Linked DNA regions of Homo sapiens: region 2 is linked to region 1. The links are contacts of gene promoters, found by promoter capture Hi-C in blood cells and fetal thymus (Javierre and others, 2016). All regions are on one chromosome and are shown on one strand. The core of a region is centred on a gene start or on the middle of the fragment in contact, and the rest is flanking DNA. Distances in the headings are between cores, read along the strand shown.

What was found. Contacts are between HindIII fragments. The CHiCAGO score rates a contact against its expected background, and 5 or more counts as called.
Region 2: a contact is called between a fragment that was not itself captured here and the fragment with the promoter of EPX in region 1, in 1 of 17 cell types (M2 macrophages). The highest score is 5.5, in M2 macrophages.

The regions. Positions count from the first base shown.
Region 1 is chr17:58,189,056-58,195,429 of GRCh38, reverse strand. EPX (eosinophil peroxidase) reads right to left here and starts at 2,704. Exons shown (of 13, transcript NM_000502.6): 1 at 2,508-2,704; 2 at 2,299-2,392; 3 at 1,884-2,059; 4 at 1,599-1,716; 5 at 1,338-1,467; 6 at 260-466. The coding sequence starts at 2,583. The HindIII fragment of the contact is 9,173 bases long and covers 1-5,365 here.
Region 2 is chr17:58,462,932-58,469,305 of GRCh38, reverse strand. It overlaps HSF5 (heat shock transcription factor 5), which reads left to right. Exons shown (of 6, transcript NM_001080439.3): 3 at 2,327-2,421; 4 at 6,003-6,374. Among named protein-coding and RNA genes, the nearest start is that of HSF5, 22 kb to the left of the region's middle. The HindIII fragment of the contact is 6,600 bases long and covers 193-6,374 here.

The DNA.
Region 1 (6,374 bases), core at 1,455-3,954:
GGGTCAAGGCATGTGTCAAGGGCTTCCCACTCCATGAAGCCTGACCTGAGCCTCCTGGCAGATTGCCCTACCCCCACCTCTCAAACACACACGGCGCGGGGTCTCTGCTCAGCTGTGTTTCTTGTGTCTCTGTCTCATACCCTAGCTCCACAGGCAGCTCCTTAAGGATGGTGCTCCAGTCTTCCAGATCCCCACCCCCAGCACCTTGCCTTTGGGGGAGGCCACACAAGGGCATGGGAGATTGGCTGAGGGTAGGTACCTTGATGGGAAAGCAGGGGGGCAGCTGGGCGCAGGTCCTCTCACAGTCAACGCCTGCAGTGAAGGCCACTCTGGCCGGGGACTCCGGGGAGAAGTCCAGGTCATGGTCAATGAACTGGCCCCACTGCATGAACATGAGGGCTCGGCCACGGTCGGAGGTCAGTCTCTCATTGGGGAAGCGCACAATCTGGTTGGAGACAGCCCGGACCTGGTGGGGAAATAACATCAGCACGGGACATGGGCTCCCTGACCCCACAAGGTATTAGAGCCAACCCAGGACTCAGGGAGCAGCAGCTCCCCTGCTGGAATTGACAGCCTCTCCTCTTCTGCCCTCCATGCCCCTTTTGTCCCTGGAGGCGTAGCCACCTCCTGCTCTCATTCCTAGAAGGATGGTTTCTGGCTGGGCTCCTGAGGATTCCGGTGGTAAAGAGAAGGAGAGGGGCTAGGTTGACTGGCTCAGACCTCACCAGCTCTCCCAGAGGGGAAGGGAGATCAAATAGATAGATCAATTTGTACACTGATAGCTAACCAGATGATAGCACGGATTCACAGGTGCATGGGCTGGTTGCCAGGTGATGGATAATACACGTAGGGAGTACGGGGTCAGCAGATGGAAGGGTGGATAGAAGAAAATTAATTAATAGATGTTGATAGATGGGTAGATGATAGACTGCTCTATCGATATATCAATAGAAAACTGATGAGTTGATAAATGTGAAATAGATCAATAGATAAAGCCAGATTAAGGTATAGAGCTGTTTATATTTAGCAAGACTTTGACACTAATTTTCTCAGAAAAAACCGTACAACACCGTAATGGTTAGCATGAATAGATCATGTCCTCTATAGCTATTTATACCAAGGACTTCAATATCCACACAGGCTCTACGAGGTAGGTTTTAGGGCCATTTTACAGATGAGGAAACTAAGCCTCAGAAAGCTGTGTTATTTGCCTCAAGTCACTGCACTGGTCAGTGGAAGGGCCTGGGTTCAAGCCCTGCCTGCGTGACTCTGGGCTGTGTTTTACTCCCCGCATTTAAGAGATCAAGCAACCTCCCAAACCCTCAGCCCCAACTCACAAGAGGGAGAAGGAAGCCATTGCGCCTCCTGCTGGGGGTCCAGCCGAAGGGGAGCGACAGCCCATCCTCATACTCGGCGGGCAGCCAGCGAGCCAGAGCCTGGTTGGAGGCCCCTAGCAAGGGTCTCCTCCTGCAGCCATGGGTGGGATAGGTTAGCAGGGGGCAGGGCCTGGAGATGGCTCAGCATGGAGGGAGAGGGTGGGTGCAGGAAGGGAGAGGTCCCCCAGGCAGGGGCAGCCCCTCCTGCCGCCCCGCACGCACTTGTTGTTGCACCGTCCAGTGATGGTGCGGTACTTGTCGCTGCAGCGCTCGGCCTGGTCCCGGAGAGCACAGCCACTGGCCTGGGACAGCAGCCGCAGCTGTGGTTCTGTTAGCACATCTGTGGGAAGGCAAATGGGCAGACCTGAGCTGGCCTGCTCTGTACCTCCCATCCCTTTACCCTCTCTCCTCCCAGCACCCCAAACCTGTGCACCCTGCCTCCCTCTCCTGGATTCCTTCTACTCCAGGCCAGGGTAGGCCCAGCGGGCTCAGTGGGGATCAGAGTACCAGTGACATTGAAGGGTCCGGACCGCTGGGGTTGTAACTTCTCTTCAAGCAGCCCCAAAGCCACATGCATATAATCTGCGGCCCGAACAACTGTCCTGGTGGCTGCTACCGGTTGTTTGAAGTAGGACAGGAGGTCCATGGGGCTGGCTGAACCGCTGCGAAGCCGCTGCTTGATGCTGCCCAGGAGAGGAGGAGTGAGGGCTGGAGAGAGGGTGCAGACCCACCCAGCAGAGACCCAGTCCTGGGGCACAGTCAGGACAGGGCAAGCGGACAGAAGGATGGATGGAAGGGAGGCTCTACCAACAGGAAATGTTCATGGGGTCCAGAGGTGGCTGATGAGTGAGATGAACTTGGCTGGGGCCCATGCCCCTCACTGATCCTCCCAGGCCCATGCAGCCCCCAGACCCAAGTCCACCTCTTCTGGGTCCAATTGTAGGCAGCATCCACCAGCAACTTGGCCTCTGCTATGCAGTCTCGCAGGACCGAGGTCTCCACTGCCCCAGGGGAGGCTGTTCAAAGAGATGGGGACTCAGGGTTCAGCAAGCCACAAGACCCCCTCCAAGACCCAAGTGCTTCCCCTTCCATTTCCCCTCCCTCCTCCTTGCCTGTCTAGGGGACTATTACCTGGGTCAGTGCCCTCACAGGGCTGGGCGAGGACGAGTGTGGCCAGGACCCCTGCCAGGGCTGGGAGCAGATGCATCTCTGCAGCGAGGCTTCACCAGCTGGGAAGTGAGTGACATCCACAGCCTGCACGGGAGGATCCTCTGCTCCCCTCTCACTTTGAGGACCCCCAGCCGACCTCTCACTTCCTCCAGCTCTTCTCTGGACGTAGCTGGGAAGGGACTTTTATAGCCCATTCTAGGGTGGGGGAGGGCAGCTCTGGGCCCTAGAAACCCAGCCTCTTGGGTGGAGTTCTGAAACTTCTCTCTGGTTTTCATGGGAGTTTTGAGACTGAAACCCCCCACCCCACCTCCTACCAGCCTGGGGACATTCTTCCTGCCTACCCTTCACTCCATCCCTACCCTCTACTACCAAGCCCACTGATGCACTTCTCCCAGGGCCCAGAGCAGCACCTGGGACACAGGTGTCGCTCAATGGATATTTGTTGGCTGACAGGAGCGGTGCACCTCAGTCGCCACCGCCTGGCTGCATGGCCTTGGGCAAGCCACTTTCCCTCTCCAGGCCTCAGTTTTCACATCCCTAGAATGAGAGTTGGGCCAGATGATTGGAAGGGTGCCTCTCCTCCTGCAACAGGGCAGAAACTGAATCTGCCTTACTGTTATACACACCCCCCATACCCAGCTCAAAGCCCAGCATTTAGTATGTGCTTAGCAGGTGTTTGTTGAGTGAATGAATGATCTGTGATGAATGATTTGGCCCCTCTCCTTATCCCCTAGCCCTACTCACTCCCTCCAAGGTGCCAGGGAGAGTGTGAGGCTGTGACTGAGGCAGGGCCTGGCAGTGAAATCCCTCATGGGGCCATTTTGGGGACATGGCGAGATGTCACAGGTAAAACACCCAGCCCAGTGAGCTGCTGCAGAGCCTAAAAGTAAGCGCCCGCCATGGGCTTTATTCTCTTGGAGTTTCTTAGGTGCCAATCAGTAGTAGGTTTACTCTGAGAAGTAGATTTCAATTATGAGTTCCTATTGGGCTTGGTGAGAAGTAGCTTCTTTAGAGGCAGTGTGCTGCACCAGGGTCTGATTGGCCTGGATTGAATCCAGCCCTGTCACTAGCTTCGTGACCTTGGGTGAGCCTCCATTTCCACCTTAAGTGCGCCTCCATTTCCACCTTAAGTGCAGAGTGCATCCCAGTCGGCCTTCTGCCAGGGCCCACCCTCTCTGCACCTAAGCCTTCCTCCTGTAGTTCCCTGCCCTGGATGAGCCAGGTTCATCCTTTGCCTCTGACCTCATCCCGGCTGCCTGGAGAGCACATGCTCATCCCTGAGACAGTTCCAGAGTCACCACCACTGTGGCCAGCAGCCTGCGTGTCCTCGCCCCTTCTTCAGGAGGACACGTCCATTCCTTCTTCAGTGTGGACCCCGTGCCTGCTCCAGACTCCCAGGGAGGCTGTTCCAAGTGTCCTTTCTCCTCCCCCACCCCCACACCCTACCGAAACCCTGCCCGGTGCCTTCCACAGCCTCCTCCTCCCACAGCAATGTTACCAGCCCAACCGTTGCTCTTGAAACAACCACCTCTCTTCGGCAACCCCTTTCACAAGCTCCAGTTGATGGCCTGAGCCCTCCTAATCTTATCTCCTTATCTTTAGCGGAGGCCCCTCTCCTGTGACGGGGGGCCTGGGTAGAAGTCACTGTGTAGGAGCTGAAAGCACACTGGGTTCCTTGATGCTGACCCACTGAGTGACTGGGTAAATCACACCCCTCCATGGACCTGTTTCCAAACCTGTGAGATGGGGACAGGGAGCCTCATGGAGGAGAGAGATTATATAAATCACACAGCACTCCTCAGCTGTGTGTCACCTCCCGGCCCTCAGGGAGCCAGGTGCTCCCCGGGTGGAGCCAGGTGGAATGCATGTACCCCAGGTTGGAGCTGGATGGGGTGTATGTACCACAGCTTGGAGCCAGGGTGGGGTGTATATAACCCAGGTTGGAGTTGGAGTAGGGTGTATGTACCCTAGGTTGGAGCCAGGGTGGGGTGTATGTACCATAGCTTGGAGCCAGAGTAGGGTGTATGTAACCCAGGTTGGAGTTGGGGTGGGCTGTATGTACCCTAGGTTGGAGGCAGGGTGGGGTGCATGTACCCCAGGTTGGAGTTGGGGTGGGGTGTATGTAACCCAGGATAGAATTGGGGTGGGATGTATGTACCCCAGGTTGGAGTTGGAGTGGGGTGTATATACCCCAGGTAGGAGTCGGGGTGGGGCGTATGTACCCCTGGTTGGAGTTGGGGTGGGATGTATGTACTCCAGGTTGGAGCTGGGGTATGGTGTATGTAACCCAGGATAGAATTGGAGTGGGATGTATGTACCGCAGGTTGGAGCTGGGATGGGATGCATATACTCCAGGTTGGAGTTGGGGTGGGGTGTATGTAACCCAGGTTGGAGCCAGGATGGGGTGCATGTATCCTGGATTGCTGTACTTCCAGGGTCCCCAGCACTCAGAGTGAGCTCTGCTCTCCCTGCAGAGGGTACTCTAGTTCTTCAACAATAGTGAGCAGTGCAAGGGTTTCTCCACAGCCATGGGCTGCCGTGGGTTATTGGGACAAGCCTGAGACAGAAACCTAGGCTCTAAGCCCAGCCCTGCCATGGTGGCTGATCTCTTGGGGATTTGGACCTATTGGTTGCTCGGGGTGGTGATGAGAGCCTGCTGCCTGGCTCTCCTGGACTCTGGCTCTGGATGTCTCCTTAGCCTACTTTCTGCCACGTTTCCCCCACAGGACCCTGCCCCTAGGCTCCAATCATCCTAACCTTCCACATATAACCCCCACCTTTTCTCTCCTTCCAAGCAGCTCCTAATTCTGCCGGAAGCTTCCTCTTCCTAGCAGGTCCCTCTGGGAAGCCATTTCTGAGTCACCCCACAAGCTGGGCTTGGTGCCATAGCCACAGCACTTAGCAGGCGGGAGCTCCTTGAGAGCAGTACAGGGAGGTGGCTACAAGCTGAACTTGGTCCCCATTCTAGCACCGTCATCCACTTGGGCAGGCTCCTCAACCTCTGAGCCCACCTCCTCACTGTCAGATGGAGGTCATTCCTAGTCTACCTCGCAGACATCATTCCTGACACATAGCAGGCGCTCAACAGTGTTGTTGAACATACCTTGTTTTTCTGCCCTATTGTTGCTTCCTTTATTGAGGTCCCTTGAGGCTGTCTGTCAAAGGCAGCAATTGCCATTGGCCTGAAGGGTGGAGGCAGTGAGTGCAAGGGATTTGCAGACCCTTCAGGGCTGGGCGCCTGGAAGGGAGGCCTCCAAGTTTAGGGCTGTTCAGACCGAGGCTCTCCAAGCACTCCTCCTCATGTCAGAGTGGGCGTGCCAGATACGGGGCCACTGGAGACGGAGTGAACGTGATGAAGTGACAGAGACCTCTCTAGCCCCTCTCCAGGGGCTTTCCAGCCTGGACCCCACCCACCCTCTCCAGCTCTGGCCCCCACTATGGGGCAGGTGACATGCAGGGTGCTCGCCATGTCTCACAGTGGTCCACGTCGACATCTGCTTTTTCCTCCCTCTGGTCAGGGCCAACCACATGCAGGGACAAGAAGAGGAGTGTAGGCAAGGGCCCCCTGCCCTCTGTGTCCCCCTCGTGGGCTTTTCATCGTGCCCACTGGGATTTCATTGGCAAGATTTTCCTTAGCATTAAGTGTTGTGCAGTAGCAACCTGGAGTATCTGACACTGGAAATATACACACACACACACACACACACACACACACACGTACACACACACACACACACACATATATATATATAGAGAGAGAGAGAGAGTCTTGCTGTGTCACACAGGCTGAGTGCAGTGGCGCAATCTTGGCTCACTGCAATCTCTGCC
Region 2 (6,374 bases), core at 2,243-4,742, 270 kb before region 1:
ACACCTATTCAAAATGTGTAACCAATGGAGTCAGAAACTTCCGAACAATAAAGCTAATCCTTTTATTGATTTATTTGTAATGAAACACAGCTTTTTGGTACCCCGATGGAATGGACCTGCAGCTCCTAAGTCTTTCTCTACTTCTGGGTGGCTAGATTTTCCTTAGCTGCTATAACTCTAGGGGAAAAAGCTTTTTTTTTTTTTTTTCCCTTCCCGAGTTTTGGCAAGCTCTGCAGATCCTGCTTGGTGTTTAGCTATTTGGATTCAATTTATTTCCTAGGATATTTGTGCTGTCAAATACTTTGGGAAATCAAATTCAAATCCAAAACATTTAAAATATATATTTGAATAACCTTCAAAGGATCAAATCTAAGAACTGTTCAGCTAACCTGTATTGGAAATGATAACAGCTTGAATTTTATGAGGCAATCTTAGTAATATATGGCCTTTTAAAGTCACCAAAATTGTTAAAAAAAGTCATCCAAAAAATAACCTTTATATTTATGTCTGAACTATAATTTTGCCCATTATTTCAAGTTTTCTTTCTGTGTGCAAAATTTAATGGTTAAATTGCTCATGATACAAAGAGAAAATATTTATTTCTAGTATATCTTCATGAACTTCTGATGTTTCAAGAATCAATAGTCATGGAGAAATAGGGAAGCATTTCGGCTATTTTTTAAAAATTCTTAGGTCAATTTACCTTTAAAGATTAAATAATGAGATTAGCACACTCAAAATATGAAAAATGTGGACATAAAAAGGGAGAGTTGCCACCTTATTGATAAAGACACCTTTAAAGATATTCGGCAAGTAGAATTCTAGTAAAACTACAAATGTTACATTTCAGGAACAGGGTTTAGCTTAGGGAATTATTGTGAGATATATATATATGTAAATTTTTTTTGTACATAGAGTCTTACTCTGTCACCCAGGCTGGAGTGCAGTGGCACAATCATGGCTCACTGCAGCCTCTACCTCCTGGGCTCAAGTGATCCTCCCACCTGAGCCTCCTGAGTAGCTGGGACTACAAACATGTGCCGCCAAGCCTGGCTGTTTTTTGTATTTTTTGTAGAGACGGGGTTTCACCGTGTTGCCTAGGCTGGTCTCAAACTCCTGGGCTGAAGGGATTCACCTGCCTCAGCCTCTCAAAGTGCCGGGACTACAGGAGTGAGCCACCATGCCTCGCTGTATTGTGGTATATTAAAGAGCGTGTGCTTTGGAGTTTAATTACTGACTCTGTCACTTCCAGCTTTGTGACTTTTGGCAAATTACTTAATATCACTGAGCTTTAGTTTACTTGTTTTGTAAAGGCAATGTATGTAAAGCATTTACTACTGTGCCTGGAATAGGGTGGGTGTTCAATGTACATCATCCTCTGTTTAAACCACAGTTGTGATATTAATAACTGATTCTCACTTATACTGGAGAGTCTCTACAAAAAAGCAGACTCAACCTATTATTAAGACTGCATCTGTAAGTAACTTTGCTAGTACCAAGAGTTCAATCTTTTCACAGTGTCCTGACTATAAAGGGAAAGTTTTGAAAATGTGTTTCTTCAGTTAAAATAATAGCAGCTAACACTTACTGTTTGCTTACTGTGTACCAGTACTCTTCTAAGTTCTTTATGGATATTAGCTCATTTATATCACAACAACCACCATATTTGGTAGGTTCTATATTCTGTTATTATCTCTATTTTAATAGGATGCAGAAACTGAGGTACACAGAGATTAACCATGCTCAAATTTACACTGGGCTGTAAAGCCAGGCTGGTGGAGCTGGGCTCCAAAACCAGGCAGTCTGGCTCTGTGATCTGCATTCCTGACCACTTGCCTAAATTATTAAAACATTTTTGTGTACATTTCTACTGGATGCATTGTTTAATGGTGGAACATTTGGAGAATACTTCATAGTTATTTTACTCTTTTAAAACACTCCACCCTCCAAATAGTTGTTACTGTTGAAATGATTGAAATACTTATTTTGGAATTTCAATATATTCCTCTATTTTCAATAAAATGAAATTACTTTCAATAAGAATATATGTTTGGTTAGAAAGGTAACAAAATGCTTAGGTGTTAAAGAAATGATTTATAAAAATAGACATTAGACATGACCCTTTTAAAGACCTTTAAAATTATTTTGTTACTGTGTGTGTTGTTTTCAATAAATAACACCACCTAATTGGACTAAATATTTTGTTAGACATACAAAAGAAGTTCTTCAAATTTGGATTTCTTTCCATGTTGAAAGAGGGGAGCTCCTTGAATGCTATAGAAATGTATTGTGGTTGATGGCTTTTCTGTGTTTGAATTTGTTCCAGCTGTGCTACAGTGCTGTTCTCCTACCCACATGGATGCTCTAAGTAGTTGTGTCACTCCCACTGCCTCTTCCTATGCACACTGCAACTACTTCCAGGTAAGATTCTTGCAACTGTGGCCATGCTCCGCGCTTTATGTGCAATTTTATCGATATTGCAAAATTTCAAAGTGTAATTTTATATTAATGAGTAACCAGAAGTAAGCTGTGGATTAATGGGCTTTGTTTTCTCAATTCTTAAAAAAAAAAAGAGAGAATTGATATAAATAATATCTCAGAATTCTTCTAGGCCAGAACTGTTCAATATAGTAGCCACTAGCCACATGTGGCTATTTAAGCTAATTAAAATTAAATGAAATTTAAAAATTCCTCAGTTATACTAGTCACATTTCAAGTACTCAATAGTCTCATATGGTTATTAAAATTAAAATTAAATTGATTTAAAAATTATTCCATACTTAACGTAGACACATTTTGAGTGCTCAGTAGTTTCATATGGCTTATGGGTACTGAATTATACAGCACAGATCTAGAACATTCCCATCATTGCTGAAAGTTATTTTAAACAGTGCTGTTCTGGATTTTTCCAAGGTAAAATGAATACCAGATAAACGCTACAAGTGTGTAAGTCACCAAATGACAGATTCTTCCAAGATGATACAGATAAATTAGACTTTTCTTTTTAAGGAGAAAGGAGAAAAATGTCAAAAATGAGAAATTTAAGTGGTGGCCCCCTTCATCCATAGCCCCTATGTTGTAAACACCATAATGGTTCAGTATCCCTTAGTCAAAATGCTTGGGACCAGGAGTGTTTCAGATTTTGGATTTTTTCAGATTTTGGAATATTTCCAAAAACATAATGAGATATCTTGGGAATATGACCCGAGTCTAAACATAAAATCTAATTATGTTTCATATATACCTTATGCATATAGTTTAAAGGTAATTTCATGCAATATTTTTAGTAACTTTGTTCATGAAACAAAGTTTGTGTTAAGTGCTTTTCTGCTGGAATTTTCCACTTGTGGTATCATGCCAGCACTCAAAAAGTTTCAGGTTTTGGAGTATTTGAGATTTTAGAATTTTGGATTAAGGATGCTCAACTTTTACTTCAAATATCTTCTCATTGTTTCTTAGGAGACACTTGCTTGGAGTTAAACGTTTTATATAGCTATTTTAAGGATACTTTTAAATTCCATGCTTTGTATTTTTATGCTGTAACTGCCAAAGATTGGAATTGTGTGTTTGCCTTGGATAATCATCTAGCCAAGATAGTTTCAAGATAGTCTCAGTTCTTAGGAGAATATCTTACTAGTGGCATTAGGGTACTCAAAAGAACATTCCCTTTTTTTTTTTTTTGGAGAAAATCTACATAGGAAGTCAAATTATAATCAGATTGTTGTTTGGAGTATAGAATGAGATCAAGGGGACTTAGCTGGCCATTTTTCATGGCTGATATGATCAAGCATGATATCCTAGCCCATTCATCTTCACTGGAGGGACATACCTATCCCACAGTTAGATGCTCTTGTTTGTGGGTCCAGGCACTCTCTTCTCTGGATCATGCTGGAGATACTATGGCAGTGTTTATATCTTGATTATGTTGTGTGCTAAATAAAACATTTTTATAAAGACCTTTTCTTGTTATAGAGACAATATATGGCCGTGTACAATGGGTCATGCCTTATAATCCCAGCTCTTTGGGAGGCCATGGTGGGAGGATTGTTTGAGGCCAGGAAATTGAGATGAGCCTGGGTAACATAGTGAGTGAGACCCTATCTCTTAAAAAAAAAAAAAAAAAGAAAAGAAATAAAGGAAGGAAGAAGGAAGGGAGGGAGGGAGGGAGGGAGAGAGAAAGGGTGGGTTAGTTGGATGTAGTGGTGCATGCACCTTTTGTCCTAGCTTGGGAGGCTGAGGTGGGAGGATCAAGCGATCCTCCCACCTTGAGGAGTTTGAAGAGTTTGAGGCTATAGTGAGCTATGATTGTGCCACTGTATTCCAGCCTGTGCAACACAGTGAGACCCTGTCTCAAAAAAAAAAAAAAAATCTGCCAGGCGTGGTGGCTCACGCCTGTAATCCCAGCACCATTTTGGGAGGCTGAGGTGGGTGGATCACTTGAGGTCAGGAGTTTAAGACCAGCCTGGCCAACATGGCGAAACCCTGTTTCTACTAAAAGTACAAAAATTAGCTGGGCATGGTGGTGGGCGCTTGTAATCCCAGCTACTCAGGAGGCTGAGGCAGGAGAATCGCCTGAACCTGGGAGGTGGAGGCTGCAGTGAGCCAAGATCGTGCCATCGCACTCCAGCCTGGGTGACAAAAGTGAAACTCTGTCTCAAAAACAAAACAAAAAATTTTAAAAAGACAATACGTGTTCATCATAGGAAAATAGCAATAAGCACACATAAAATTTTGAAATAGAAAAATGGGAAAGTGTTTCAGATTCCATCCTGAAAATAAATGCAGTTGGTTTAGTTGGACTGTAGGTATGGGTGAGAGTGTGCGTGCACAGTCAGTACATTGTATTGTTTAAGAGCAAGAGCTCTTGAATACGGCAAACCTAGGCTTGAAACCTGGCTCTGTCAGTTATTTCATTGTAACTTTGGGTAAATTAGGAAGTTTCTGGACCTCAGTTTTATCATTTGAAATGGAGATTATCACATTTCACAGGGCTCTTTTGAAGGTTGGATGAAATCTATATAAAGCACTTTGCATGTGCTTGGCACATAGTAATAACTCAATAAATGTGCTATTGGCTATAGTCACTTAGTGCTTATACCATTTGAATTTACATTATTTGGCATTAGTGGCCTTCTGAAAATCTTTGACAATCTTTGTTAATGATTGTGTTTAGCAGCATCAACTCACTACATACTTTCTTTAATCATAACTCTTCTGTATTTTAAGTTTATAATCTGATATAATCAGCAAACATTTATTGAATGCCTACTCTGTGCGAAGCTCTTCATTGTGCAACATCAATTCATTACATGTTTTATTTAATCATTCTTCTGTATTTTATGTTCACAGATCTTTATCACCAAACATGTATTAAATGCCTACTCTCTGCAAAGCAGTATATACAAGGGAATATATCTTAAAGATGTAAATCTAAAAGCAACAGCCATTTTAGTCTATTGCTTTGTTATTAAAAATAAATAATCCCAGGAAACAAAGGACATTTGATATTCCATCCATTTTTCCCCATATTATTTGGAACAGAATATTAGTACCGCTCCCTGAATCTGTAGAAGGATTGGTAGACTTGTGAGCATCCTGTGTTTGAAATTTCCTTACTGCATTCCTGAAACAGTATATGATAGATACAAATTATGTTTCTGTCTGTCAGCCTTTATGGAAGAATTTGGTGTATAGATGCTTTATCAGCAAATAGGTATTTGGGTACTATAGCTTTTGATTTTGTACAGTTTAACCTTAAGAATTATTGACCATTGGAGTATTAAACTTAGCAGAGTGGTTGACATGTAGTATATACTAAGTAAATGCTAACAGTAGATTTGAAGCTACTATTGCTGAAAAGTAGATTAGTGTCTAGGTTTTCTTAGTGATCTTTAAGTTTAATCTATTTATGTTTAGCACTCATCAGCCTAAATATTGTAGCTTTCCTCCTTAATCTCATATTTTATTTTCTATCCAAACAGTTATATTTTTTCTTTTCCCAGAATCCTTCAATGCAGTCCTCCTATCCAGTTGAATTTTTGCCTTCCAATTGGCCCTGCAGTACTACTGATGAAAATACAAAGACAGAAGTAAACCTAGAGGCTGTCTTTCAGATAGTTGATGAGTTGCATTCCTCCCCTAAATTGGAGATGGTAAAGGTGGAGCCTGTTGAGAATCAGTGCCCAACATCTCCGTCTTACAGAGGCCAACACATTTTAGCTAATTCTAACAACAGCAATCCATGTTCTGCAAGTCAGGCTAGCCAGCTGGAGCCACTTACTCCTGTAGGCTCAGATATTATGTCTTTTGTGGTTGGAACAGAACAAGCAGTTGCCTGCTCTCTACCACAGTCACCTGAGTACATCTATACCATC